Regions from separate parts of the Homo sapiens genome. Here region 1 is linked to region 2. The links are contacts of gene promoters, found by promoter capture Hi-C in human tissues and cell types (Jung and others, 2019). All regions are on one chromosome and are shown on one strand. Each heading gives the region's core, a stretch centred on a gene start or on the middle of the fragment in contact. The rest is flanking DNA. Distances are from core to core; before and after follow the strand shown. Region 1 holds the start of LINC02198 (long intergenic non-protein coding RNA 2198). Region 2 holds the start of CCDC125 (coiled-coil domain containing 125).

The links. Contacts are between HindIII fragments. The study calls those that stand out against the background at their distance.
Region 1: a fragment that was not itself captured here is called in contact with the fragment with the promoter of CCDC125 in region 2 in 1 of the 25 tissues and cell types used here (dorsolateral prefrontal cortex).

Annotation. Positions count from the first base shown.
Region 1 is chr5:69,026,668-69,032,693 of GRCh38, reverse strand. It overlaps LINC02198 (long intergenic non-protein coding RNA 2198), which reads left to right and starts at 2,767. Exons shown (of 4, transcript NR_130778.1): 1 at 2,767-2,906. The HindIII fragment of the contact is 3,211 bases long and covers 1,398-4,608 here.
Region 2 is chr5:69,331,202-69,336,892 of GRCh38, reverse strand. CCDC125 (coiled-coil domain containing 125) reads left to right here and starts at 4,092. Exons shown (of 12, transcript NM_176816.5): 1 at 4,092-4,244. It also overlaps the pseudogene CHCHD2P2. RefSeq lists a silencer at 557-851. The HindIII fragment of the contact is 34,363 bases long and covers 1-5,691 here.

The DNA.
Region 1 (6,026 bases), core at 1,754-4,253, 300 kb after region 2:
ACAATAATATTGGGGCTGTTAAAAGAATGCAACAGTTAAAAGAATACAACAATTCCAATGTACAGATATGGAATTCTTTCCAAGAAATTAATAAATAAAAAAAGCAAGGTAAGAAACAGTGAGTAAGTGTCTTAGGCTGAGATCTCTGGAAGCAAAGACTGAGACAGGGATTCTTGTGTTTTTAGGAGAGGTTGCTCCCAGGAGATGGGGTGGGAACAGCATAGAGTAGTGGATAAAAGGTAAGCAAGAGATGATCTCAGTGGATATCAGTGTTAGCCTGATCCCACAGGGAGTTCTGGAGCATGAATTGCACCATAAAGCTGTCCAACCTTTTATACCCCTGTGCTGGCTACAATGTGCCGCAGGATGGAGAATTCTCTATAGAAGGGGGCAACTGTGAACCATTAGCTGCTAACACTCATAGCAGCCAAGAGATGGGTGCACTGGCTTCTTCAGGGGATCTAGGCCGAGCTACAGCAGCACCCCCTGCAGATGGCGTACTGCAGGAAGGATACTGTACTATATATGCTTGTACATGCATGGGAATCTAAGAGTAGATGCTCTTATCCTGGAGTCCATGGATCCCTAAGGGATTCACAGATAGAACAGTATTACAGGCAAATTGGTTTCTTTTGTAATCCTCTGCACTTTAGCTTACATATTTTCAAACATTGTTCTGAGAGGGGGATCCATAAGCTTTATCAGATACTGAAGTGGTCTGTGGTACACACACAAAAATGAAGAGAACAAGAAAGTGGTAACAGTGTTTGCCTTGGGTGGGGGATGAATTCTAGGGGTCTGGAGTCAGGAGTGGGAAAGAGATTCCTATTCTTTGTATATCCTTTTGTGCTATTGGGATTTTTGCTGTGTGCATGGATTACATTCTAAAAAGATTAAAACATAAGAAAATGTATTTTTAAAAACTACCTCCCCACATTTTTTTTTTTAAAGAGACAGAATCTTGCTCTGTCACCCAGGCTGGAGTGCAGTGGTGTGATCGTGGCTCACTGCAGCCTTGAACTCCTGGGCTCAAGCCATCCTCCTGCCTCAGCCTCCTGAGTAGCTGGGACCACAGGTGTGTGCCACCACATCTGGCTAATTTTTAAATTTTTTGTAGAGATGGGGTTTCACTATGTTGTCCAGGCTGGTCTTGAACTCCTGGCCTTAAGCGATTGTCTTGCCTCAGTTTCCTAAAATGTTGGGATTACAACTATGAGCCACTGTACCCAACCCTATTTTTCCTGGATTTTCTCTTCACTCTTACTTCCTACGTTGCCTTTTCTGTTTTATACAATTTCTGCAATTGCTTGTCTTCCTCTTCCTAAAGTCTCTTCCTATCTCTAATGCTTGCATTTGATTTTAAAGCTGTTCTGGCACACTTGAATAGAATCCTGCATAATAATCTTTCACTAATTTTTCCCCCGACTCCTTATCAAATGTTCACTAAAGTGTATAGTTATTTCTTAGCATATATGCACATACTTGCAAAATAGACCACTATAATCTGCACAATTCTTCTTAAATTCAGCTTTTAAAACATGCCTTTAAATGAAGAAAATATTTGTATAATGAGAATAAATTTTGAAGGTTGTTTCACATTCAAGATTCTTTGAGGTTTTTAACCAGAACAGGTTTGGGGACAACAACTGATGCCTCCTTTAATCACAATACATTTTTAAAAAGTTGAGATTTACTAAAATCTACCTTTCAGGATTTTAAAATGGATGTGCAATCTCCACCACTTTTATTGCCAAGGGAGCACGCATCTGCCCTGGAAAACCTTCCTGTGGAGCGATGTCAGCAGAGATAAATGAATGAGAGTACATGCAGTTCTGGAATAATAGTGCAATTTGGCTAAAGGGTGACATCATCTTTTCACTGTTGTATGTGCCATTCTAAGTAGCAATAAGTCCAGCTGAGCTAGAGAATGAATTATAAGGAAAGTACATTGGCAAGGTGGAATAAAATATAAAAAATTGAAAAAGAAGGTAGCTTTGAATAGATCCAGTCCGCAATATATTTTTTGATATGGAAGGTCTTGATTTAATCACCACATCATAATTTGCCATTATTTTGGATTATGTGGAAAGATGCAAAGCTTCTTTCCTAATGGCTGGTTTGCTATATATACACATGTGTACCACCAGAGTATAAATAGGGACGTTGGAATTGATTTTAGTCTTTAAAGTGTACACTTAAATGCTGGAAAATAAAATGCCTTTATCAGTTAAATCTCCTTACTGTGATTCTACATGCCTCATTGGTAACACTTGAAGAAGGGTTTGCTGGGTTTTATTTGGATCGAGAAAAGAATGCCATCATCCTTCATGCTGATGAACCCAGGGGAGGATCAGTTTGTGATTCTGCATGGGTTCTTGAGGGGTCGGCCAGTATTAACTCATTGCTTTTTTTCTCTTTAAGTAACAGCTTTATTGAGATTGGATTAACATCCCAATATATTGCTTCTGTTCTCTAATTTTTTAGAGTGCAACTCAAACCCCTAATATCTCCTTGTCTTCTAATTCCTCAGGCAACAGATGACTTTCTGCAAAGGCACTGATAATAGCTATGAGGAATAAATATTGCAGATGGATTAAATCAAAGAATCAAATTTCAAAGCCAAATTAGTCGTGAAAAGGAGGGAGAAGCAGAAATGAAGAAAAAAGAACCACAGAAGTAAAATCAGCAGCATTGAAAAGAAAATCATCTGCTGTTTGAATAAAGACCCAAGATCTTTCATTGTTGGATCCCCAAAGCCAGTGCCTTTTTTGAGCAGCAAGTCCCAAGATCAAGAAATCAGAAGGAACTAATACTTTAACTAATTAGTAGTAATGAAAATTTACTAGACATCAATGACAAATTTACAAGGCAAATTTATTTCCAAAGTACATTCATATATATCACAGGTAAAATGAGGTTTTCACAAACACCATTTTAAACATAGGGTTTATTTGCAGGAGCTATTTTTGTGGCTTAGGGAACAAATGGTTCATTGAAACAGAACTTTGCTGGTCTGGTTTCAAAGAATTCTATTATATAAAAGATTCTGTAGAACAGATGGGATCAAAAGTCCCTGAACACAGAACAGGAATATCAGGTAATGAAAATGTTCTTTTGGTATAGTATTATGTTTTATGCTTTGAAAGTATTAGTATGCAAGGAACTCAGGCAAGAGCATAAAAGAGGAAGTAGGAATAATACTTTATGTTTGAATAGGCTTTAGACTTTCCAAAATACTTACATCCTACTGAAGCTTGGTAGCAAGTATTATCCTTGTTTTATTGATGAAAAACATGCTTCCAAGAAAGATGCATTACAAGCGACAGAAAACTCAAAGTGGATTACACAGTAAAAGGTATCTGTCTCTCTGTCTGTCTCTGTCTCTGTGTTTTGGCTCACAGAATTGAAAAGTTCAGGACTAGAGTGAGCTTTCAATGTGCCTTGAAAGAGATGTTCGATTGATACCATCAGGGCCCAGATTCCCTTGACATCTCTTAGTTCTGTTTTCCTAGTATGTGGTTAACTCTGATTAGCCAGGATGGAGACAATAACTCCTGAGCTAAATATGTGGAGTGGGGCAAGGATGGCCCTCTACAGGCGAAGGTGGGGGTGCATTTTAATATGAGTATGGGGGAAAGGATCAGATCTGGGCTAGATCTGATATTCAAGAGGTGTAAACAGATGACCAACAAGATGTTAACAAGATGACACGATTAGAAAGATTTTAATCAAGCCTAGAACCCAGCTCCTCTGAATCCTGGCAAAACATAGGTAGGAACAAAACTGGGAAACAAGACAAGGGATGTCCCAGGAGCTGATGTTTCAGTAAGAGCATAGTTGAGAAGAGACAGAAGAAAACAATAGTTAACAGAGGTAGGTGGATTTAGAAAGAAGGCTTTACTTTGAACAAGACTTGATCCCAGTTGAGACTTTGCTGAAGGAATCCCTAATAGACAGACCTGAGCCACCTCCTTCCTTTGTCATATATATGTATCTCATAGGCATCTTACAAATATGATGACTGCTCTATAAATAACCGAGAAATCTTAGTTTCTGGATCTTACCCTGGCCCAACTCCAAATTATCTTCTTTGGTTTTAGCTGGATCTTTAGGAAGACTGGTCTGCCTAATTTTGTTGCATCTCATTGTGCCCTATTTGCCAGGCCGCTTTGATAAGGAGATCTTCATATAATTCCTTTCTGTGTTGCTGCCCTGTCTTCCATGTTTAGAGTTCGAATCCTCCTTTTCTAATAGCTGAAACACACCCAGATCAAAATAAGCTTCATTAAGGCGGCATTCTACAAAGACAGTGGTTCTCCAATGGTGGTCCTCAGATTACCTGCATTTTTTTTGATGCCTTGTGGAAATAGAAAAACACCCAAACATCACCTGTTTCTTGAAGTTTGGTGGAACTCATTGAATACAACTCTCTTAGGCCAGATGCCACTTTAGAAATTATGTCATTGATTACATTTTCAACTTTTTTTTTTTTTTTTTTTTTTACAGTGCTTGATCTATTCACATTTTCACCTAATAGGTTTATTTAACTCAGGACTTTATGGGGTTGAGAAAAGCACTTTATTATGAGAAGAATATGTAGGTTATTTAACAGAGTCACCTGCAGCAGTCAATATACAATAAACTATAATGATACACAGTAGTTCTAAGGTCAGCCTTGCTATTCATATTATTTTCCAGGATCACTTCACTGAGGAACTGAACACGAGCATTTAACTTGTGTGACTAGTTATGGCCTGGTCTGGATTTCCTTCTGTAGGTATTGTCTTGTTCTTGTCTCAGCCTTTTCTTGCTTCCAAGGCCTTACTCATAAATTCTAATCTTTGCTTATGCAGTCTTTAAGTATTGTGTTTTCCTCTATTGATTTCATGGAAGGCTTCCCTCTAATGTAGCATACATTGGCCCTGCCTGTGCAAAGCTTCTTTTCTCTCCAACAAGCAGGAGACTTGTGTCTTTAGCTCTTTTTCTGCAAGAGCTGCACTCTCCCGTTCTCTTGTGGCCATGGCAGATGATTTCTCGTCACCTCCTCCCTCTCCGCCAACTTCCTTTCCTCCATCCAATTTCTTTTATGACAGGAGTTCCTCTTGGTTGAAGTTAACATTAAAACAGTTAACTTTGTTTTTTTTTTGAGATGGAGTTTGACTCTTGTTGCCCAGGCTGGAGTGCAATGGTGTGATCTCGGCTCACTGCAACCTCTGCCTCCCGGATTCAAGTGAATCTCCTGCCTCAGCCTCCCAAGTAGCTGGGATTACAGGCATGTGCCACCATGCCTGGCTAATTTTGTATTTTAAGTAGAGACAGGGTTTCTCCATGTTGGTCAGGCTGGTCTCGAACTCCTGACCTCAGGTGATCCGCCCGCCTCGGCCTCCCAAAGTGCTGGGATTATAGGCGTGAACCATCATGCCTGGCCAACAGTTAACTTTTAACTGAAGCTGAAGTTAAAACAGTTTCTTCATAGGCAGACATATGAATGCTATAATTTTCTTTTGATAATATCTAATGTGCTCTCTCCTCATATCACCAAGCAGTAATTTTGAATCTTATTGTTTTGTCCTTTGTGCCAGGGTTCTCAAGATGTCTTACATGAAAAAAGCTCTGTGGCACATTACATTTGGGAGCTGCTGATTAAAGACATATAAGCTCTTTTGCTGACCATTTTTCCAGAACCTTGACTGGAATGTTAATATCCATTGTAAATCTCTAAGTGGGTACCAGTGTTCTGCAAAGCACTCTGGGAAATGTTTCCCTTTCCTTTATCTTTTTTAGCCAGTCCCAATGTATTATAACTTGAGTGAAACAGAGCTGTCCTATACGCCACTCTCAGCATACTGAGACATCCAAAGGAAATCCAAGTCTGGCTGAAAAAATCACCCACCTTGAAAAACAACGTATGTTGATCAAGACAGATGCCTCTTGGAGAGGGAGCCAAAGGATAACTGCACCACCCGGGATCATCTTTATAGATCTCTCTTCCTGAAGGCCACCTCAGCACCCTAGCTGCTTCTCAA
Region 2 (5,691 bases), core at 2,843-5,342:
CAAAGTGCTGGGATTACAGGTATGAGTCACCATGCTGGGCCTCACATGTTAGGTTTTAATGAGGTCTCTTAGTTTGCCGCTAGGATCAAGTCCTCTCTCTTTTTTTTTTTTTGAGACGGAGTCTCGCACTGTGGCCCAGGCTGGAGTGCAGTGGTGCAGTCTCAGCTCAATGCAACCGCCGTCTCCCGACTTCCAGCGATTCTCTTGCCTCAGCCTCCCGAGTAGCTGGGATTACAGGTGCGTGCCACCACGCCCGACTAATGTTTTGTGTTTTTAGTAGAGATGGGGTTTCACTGTGTTAGCCAGGATGGTCTTGATCTCATGACCTTGTGATTCACCCACCTCAGCCTCCCAAAGTGCTGGGATTACAGTCATGAGCCACCGTGCCCGGCCTCAAGTCCTCTCTCTTACCTCTCACTGATTCAGCCACATACAATTATTTTGATCACCTGCTATGCACCCATGGTGTTCTTGGCACTAGGAATCCTGCTGTGAGTGAAGCTGAGCTCCTGCCTGGGTAGAGCCTGGGCCACATGGGTCTCCCAGCTGTGCTTTGAAGTCACTGTCAAAAGTCCTGGGCACTGGAGAATTTCATGTGTCTGTTGCTAAGGCAAGATGCCAAATTCCACATTTGCCTCCAACAGGAACAAATGTCAGTTTCCACCAAGCCCCACCTTGTTCAGGTGACTCCTGTTGTGAGTCTTTTCATACCATCTCCCCTTCACCCACAAGTGCCACCAACAGGCAGAGGTGGGGAGCTGGGTTTGGAGATACTGGTCTGATCCTTAGGTGAACTCCTCTCCCCTGATGTTGCAGGAGAATGGGTGCTCAGATGGAGAATCAGCACTCTTCTCAGGATTGGAAGGTGCTGTGGCTGGGGGAGTCTGCATTATGTTCTGGGCTGTGAGCTTTTCCAGAATTCTGCTCCACAGGCACACATCTGCTGTGTATGTATTTCATGGTATAAATCAGATGTCCCTGAGTTCTCTAGTATTGAATGTCTATGTAAAAAGTGTCTAGCCCCAACTGAGGATGCTGGAAGTCTAGTCTGTTAGGAGGCCCCTGAATATGTGCTTGTCTTGTGTGACCTTCCAGGAGGTGACTCAGTTCTCTTTTGTTCTGTTTCTTGCTCTAGGCTATTGCTCCATTTTTTTGTAGGTCATCTCCTGCCACTTCTTCTCTAGGGTAATGCTGTTTGCAATACACAGTTCCTTGTCTTGGTTTCCCAAGCATCTTAGTTCTGAAAGTGAGATATGGGCTTGTCTGGGACGTGGGGGACAAAGATCAGGTGCCTCCACAAGTGACTCTCCTCAGCTCCCAGCCAGCTGACAACTGCATGGACTGATGGTCTCTTTCTTTCCTTATCTGCATGCTGGTTTCCAGGACTTTGCGCACCCTGAAGGAGCCTCATATGACCCAGTAGTTTCATTCCTAGGCAGCTTTTATATCTTTTATCATTTTTCTAAGCTTAAGACACCTTTGGTCAGCCACGGTGGCTCACGCCTGTAATCCCGGCACTTTGGGAGGCCAAGGCGGGCGAATCACCTGAGGTCAGGAGTTCGAGACCAGCCTGACCAACATGGAGAAACCCCCTGTCTACTAAAAATACAAAATTAGCTGAGCGTGGTGGTGCAGACCTGTAATCTCAGCTACTCCAGAGGCTAAGGCAGGAGAATCACTTGAACCCGGGAGGCAGAGGTTGCAGTGAGCTGAGATCTCGCCACTGCACTGCAGCCTGGCAACAAGAGAAAAACTCTGTCTTTAAAAAAAAAAAAAAAGACTCCTTTTCTTTCCTCATTAATTTGGCGGCCACGTCTGTCCGGAACTTGTGGGACGTCCTCGTCTTCATCAGGTTGGCAGATACTCCAGCATGGCCTGCCGGCCGCCGAGGCCACCATCCACAGGCTCAAGGGCTCCGTGGTCGCTCCTTCGTGCTCCCGCCTCCAGAGGGAGCCAGACAGTGCATCCTTGCAGTGGACGCCGCCCGCCCGCAAAAGCCTGTTTTTCAATGACTGCCTCTACCTCTGAACCTCAGCTTAGATTTCTCTCTCTCTCTCTCTCCCTCCCTCTCCCTCTCTCTCTCTCTCTCTCTCTCTCTCCCACCCCCACCTCCTCTTTTTAAGACAAAGTCTTGCTCTGTCACCCAGGCTGGAGTGCAGTGGCGCGATCTCGGCTCACGGCAAACTCCGCTTGCCGGGTTCAAGAGATTCTCCTGCCTCAGCCAAGCAGCTGGGAATACAGGCACCTGCCACCACGACCGGCTAATTTTTTTTTTGGAAGAAAATGACTTTATTCTAATTAACTCACAAAGAATAAAATCATAACAGCTAGTTTAAGGAGGCCACACAAACATTTGCCCTGTCACAGATTCTACAGAGTAGGAACACCCCCCTTCCATTTCAATTCTGAAGCAAGGAAGCTAGGAATGACAGGAGAGGTTTAACTCATGGTTACACTTTATACCCTCACTATCAATTCTATTTTTATACTAAATTAACTTAGTTATGAGAGCTGATTTTCCATCTCTCCAGGTTGAACTTCTTGATTAGGCCAATCCGTTTGCAAGTCGGCACTGTTTCAGCACCTCATTGAAACCCTCACAGAGCTTGATGTCACCCTGGTTCTGGGCACACTCCAGAAACTGATCTCATAGAAGCAAGGCTGCTGCTGCTGTGCCGGCTGGGTTCCCTGAGGCTCCTGGTAAGTGATGTCAGGCCTCGCAGGCTCAGCATTACTTCCTCCCCTGAAAGCCCCAGTAATGGCGTGACCCACAGCAGAGCCCACAGCCACGCCAGCTGCAGTGGTTGCCATCTGGGCCATCAGACCTGGCTGCCGGGGCGCAGCAGCAGAAGAGCCAACTACAGATGGGGGTGCCGCTGCTGGTGGCTGAACGACTGGTACTGGCCTGGGTGCAGCTCTCATCTGAGGGGGCCTGGCTGGCCGGAGGGGCCATGCGGGAGGTGCGGCTTCGGCTTCCACGCGGCATCCTAGGTACGCGACGGCTCGGCCTCCGGACGTGTGACGACCGGCTAAATTTTGTATTTTAGTGGAGATGGGGTTTCACCATGTTGGCCAGGCTGGTCTCAAACTTCTGACCTCAGGTGATCCACCCACCTTGGCCTCCCAAAGTGCTGGGTTAACAGGCGTGAGCCACCGCACCTGGCCCGATCTACCCTTCTCTTACAGGATTCCTAGAGACTTAATATTTTGGTTTTGGTTTGTTTCTTTTTTGAGACAGGGTCTCCACTCCGTCGCCCAGGCTGGAGTGCAGTGGTCACTGTAGCCTGGATCTCCCAGGCTCACGGGATCCTCCCACCTGACGGCCTCCCGGCCTCCTGAGTAGCTGGGACTACAGGTACGCACCACCACACCCGCTACTTTTTAATTATTTTTTTTTTTTGAGACGGAGACTCGTTCTGTTGCCCAGGCTGGAGTGCAGTGGCACGATCTTGGCTCACTGCAAGCTCCGCCTCCCGGGTTCACGCCATTCTGCCTCAGCCTCCTGCGCAGCTGGGACTACAGGCACCCGCCACCACGCCCGGCTAATTTCTTGTATTTTTAGTAGAGAAGGGTTTTCACTGTGTTAGCCAGGATGGTCTCAATCTCCTGACCTCGTGATCCACCCGCCTCGGCCACCTAAAGTGCTGGGATTACAGGCGTGAGCCACCGCGCCCAGCCCTACTTTTTAAATTTTTTGTAGAGCGGGGTCTCACTATGTTGGCCATGCTGGTCTCGAATTCCTGGCCTCAAGCGATCCTCCCGCCTTGGCCTCCCAAAAGCTGGGATTACAGGTGTGAAACCCCGCGCCGGTCTGAACCTCAATGTTTGAACCACCAAATTTTACCTGTATTGACACAGGCCCCGTCTTGTTGTTTTTCTAAATCTCATGTCATTGTTTGCATATTGGTTACCCGTGGTTGGCTTTGGAGCTGAAGGTGGACAGAGCTAACATCAGGTTGCACACAGGAACACAGTGAGGTCGCGAAAAAGTAGCGCGAGCTGCCTCCATGGCCCAGGGCGACCTCACCGGCGTTTCCTGTCTGGGACTGCGCCCACGCGGTCACGTGGTGGCCCGGAGGACGCGCGGCGGCAGCGGCGCACGCGCACGGAGAGGAGGCTACTTGCCAGGTGAGCGAGCTGAGTGGGGCGCCGGGGCGGTAGGAGGGTGCTGTTCGCTGAGCTGGAGTCCGGGCTCCGGTCCCCGCCACGGACCTTGAGAGGGTACCCGGGGTCAGACCTGGCAGGTGGGAACCGGGAGTGGGGAGGACCCAGGGCAGGGGCGGGATGCGCAGATTCGTGGAAACTCTGCAGGTTGTGGACAAACTGCCCAAATCCTTTTCCCTGAATGCCAGTTTAATGGCCTCGTCTGATAAGAAAAAAATAAGAAATAGATTTCAGAGACCCTATTTCTCTCTCTGCCTCTCCACCTGCTTTACTTTTTTTCTCTTCTGTTAATTTTGAGCCTTATAAAACTATAGCGCCAGTATCCTGGTTTGGATCCTGAAACAGAAAAAGACATTAGTGGAAAAAATAATAAAGGCTGTGGTTTAGTTAATAGCACGTACCCATGTTAATTTCTTAATTTCGACAAATTGTACACAAATGTTGACATTAGAGGAATTTGGGTAAAAGGTACACAGGAATTCTTAGTACTATCTTTGCAATTTACTGTACATCTAAAATTATTCTAAAATGAAAAGTTAAGAAACAAAATCCTAAAGCAAAGTGCAGCAGGCCATTGTTCACCAGGGAGGGCTCAAGTTAGTTCCTCTTTGTCATGGAGTTAGGCATGTTTGACCAACTTGTTTGCTAAGGCAGAGTTGTCAGGCTACTGAATGTAGATTCTTCTGTCCAAAGGTTTCCGGGCAGGAATCGGTTTTCTCTTTCGATTCTGTCAAATATCTTTGGAACACATGTTGTGCATAAGCAAACGAGACACACAAAGTCTCTGCATAAGGGAATATACAGTCAGTCTAGGTCAGGTAGGAAGTAAGCACTATTAAAAAGATTCAGTAAAACCTCCCAGAACTGGGAAGACTCAGATGTGGAAGAAATCACATCTGGTCCAAGGGAGTCAGGAAGGCTACTGGAGGGAGTGCTGTCCTGAACTGAGGGGGCTCTGAGAAGAAACAGCATTCCTGGGGTGAAGAATGGCACCAATAGAGGCTTGCAGGTGACCAAGCTGAGCTGAGGGAGGAGCCCTGGGAGCAAGTGCAGTTCCTCTTACGTGGAAGCGCAGAGTACATCCAGGGAGTACTGCCAGATGAAACTGGAGGTGAAAACTGTAGCTTTGTTGTAGAAAACAGGGTGACACTTCAGTTGGATACATTATTTTTATTTTTATTTTTTTGAAACGGAGTTTCGGCTGGGCGCAGTGGCTCACGCCTGTAATTCCAGCACTTTGGGAGACCGGTGAGCAGATCTCCTGAGGTCTGGAGGTCTAGACCAGCCTGGCCAACATGGTGAAACCCCGTCTCTACAAAAATACAAATATTAGCCGGGCATGGTGGTGGGCGCCTGTAATCTCCGCTACTGGGGAGGCTGAGGCAGGAGAATCGCTTGAACCCAGGAGGTCTAGGTTGCAGTGAGCCGAGATCGCACCATTGCACTCCAGCGTGGGTGACAGACAATAGTGCTGTCTCAGCTCACTGGAACCTCCACCTCCCAAGTTCAAGCGATTCTCCTGCTTAG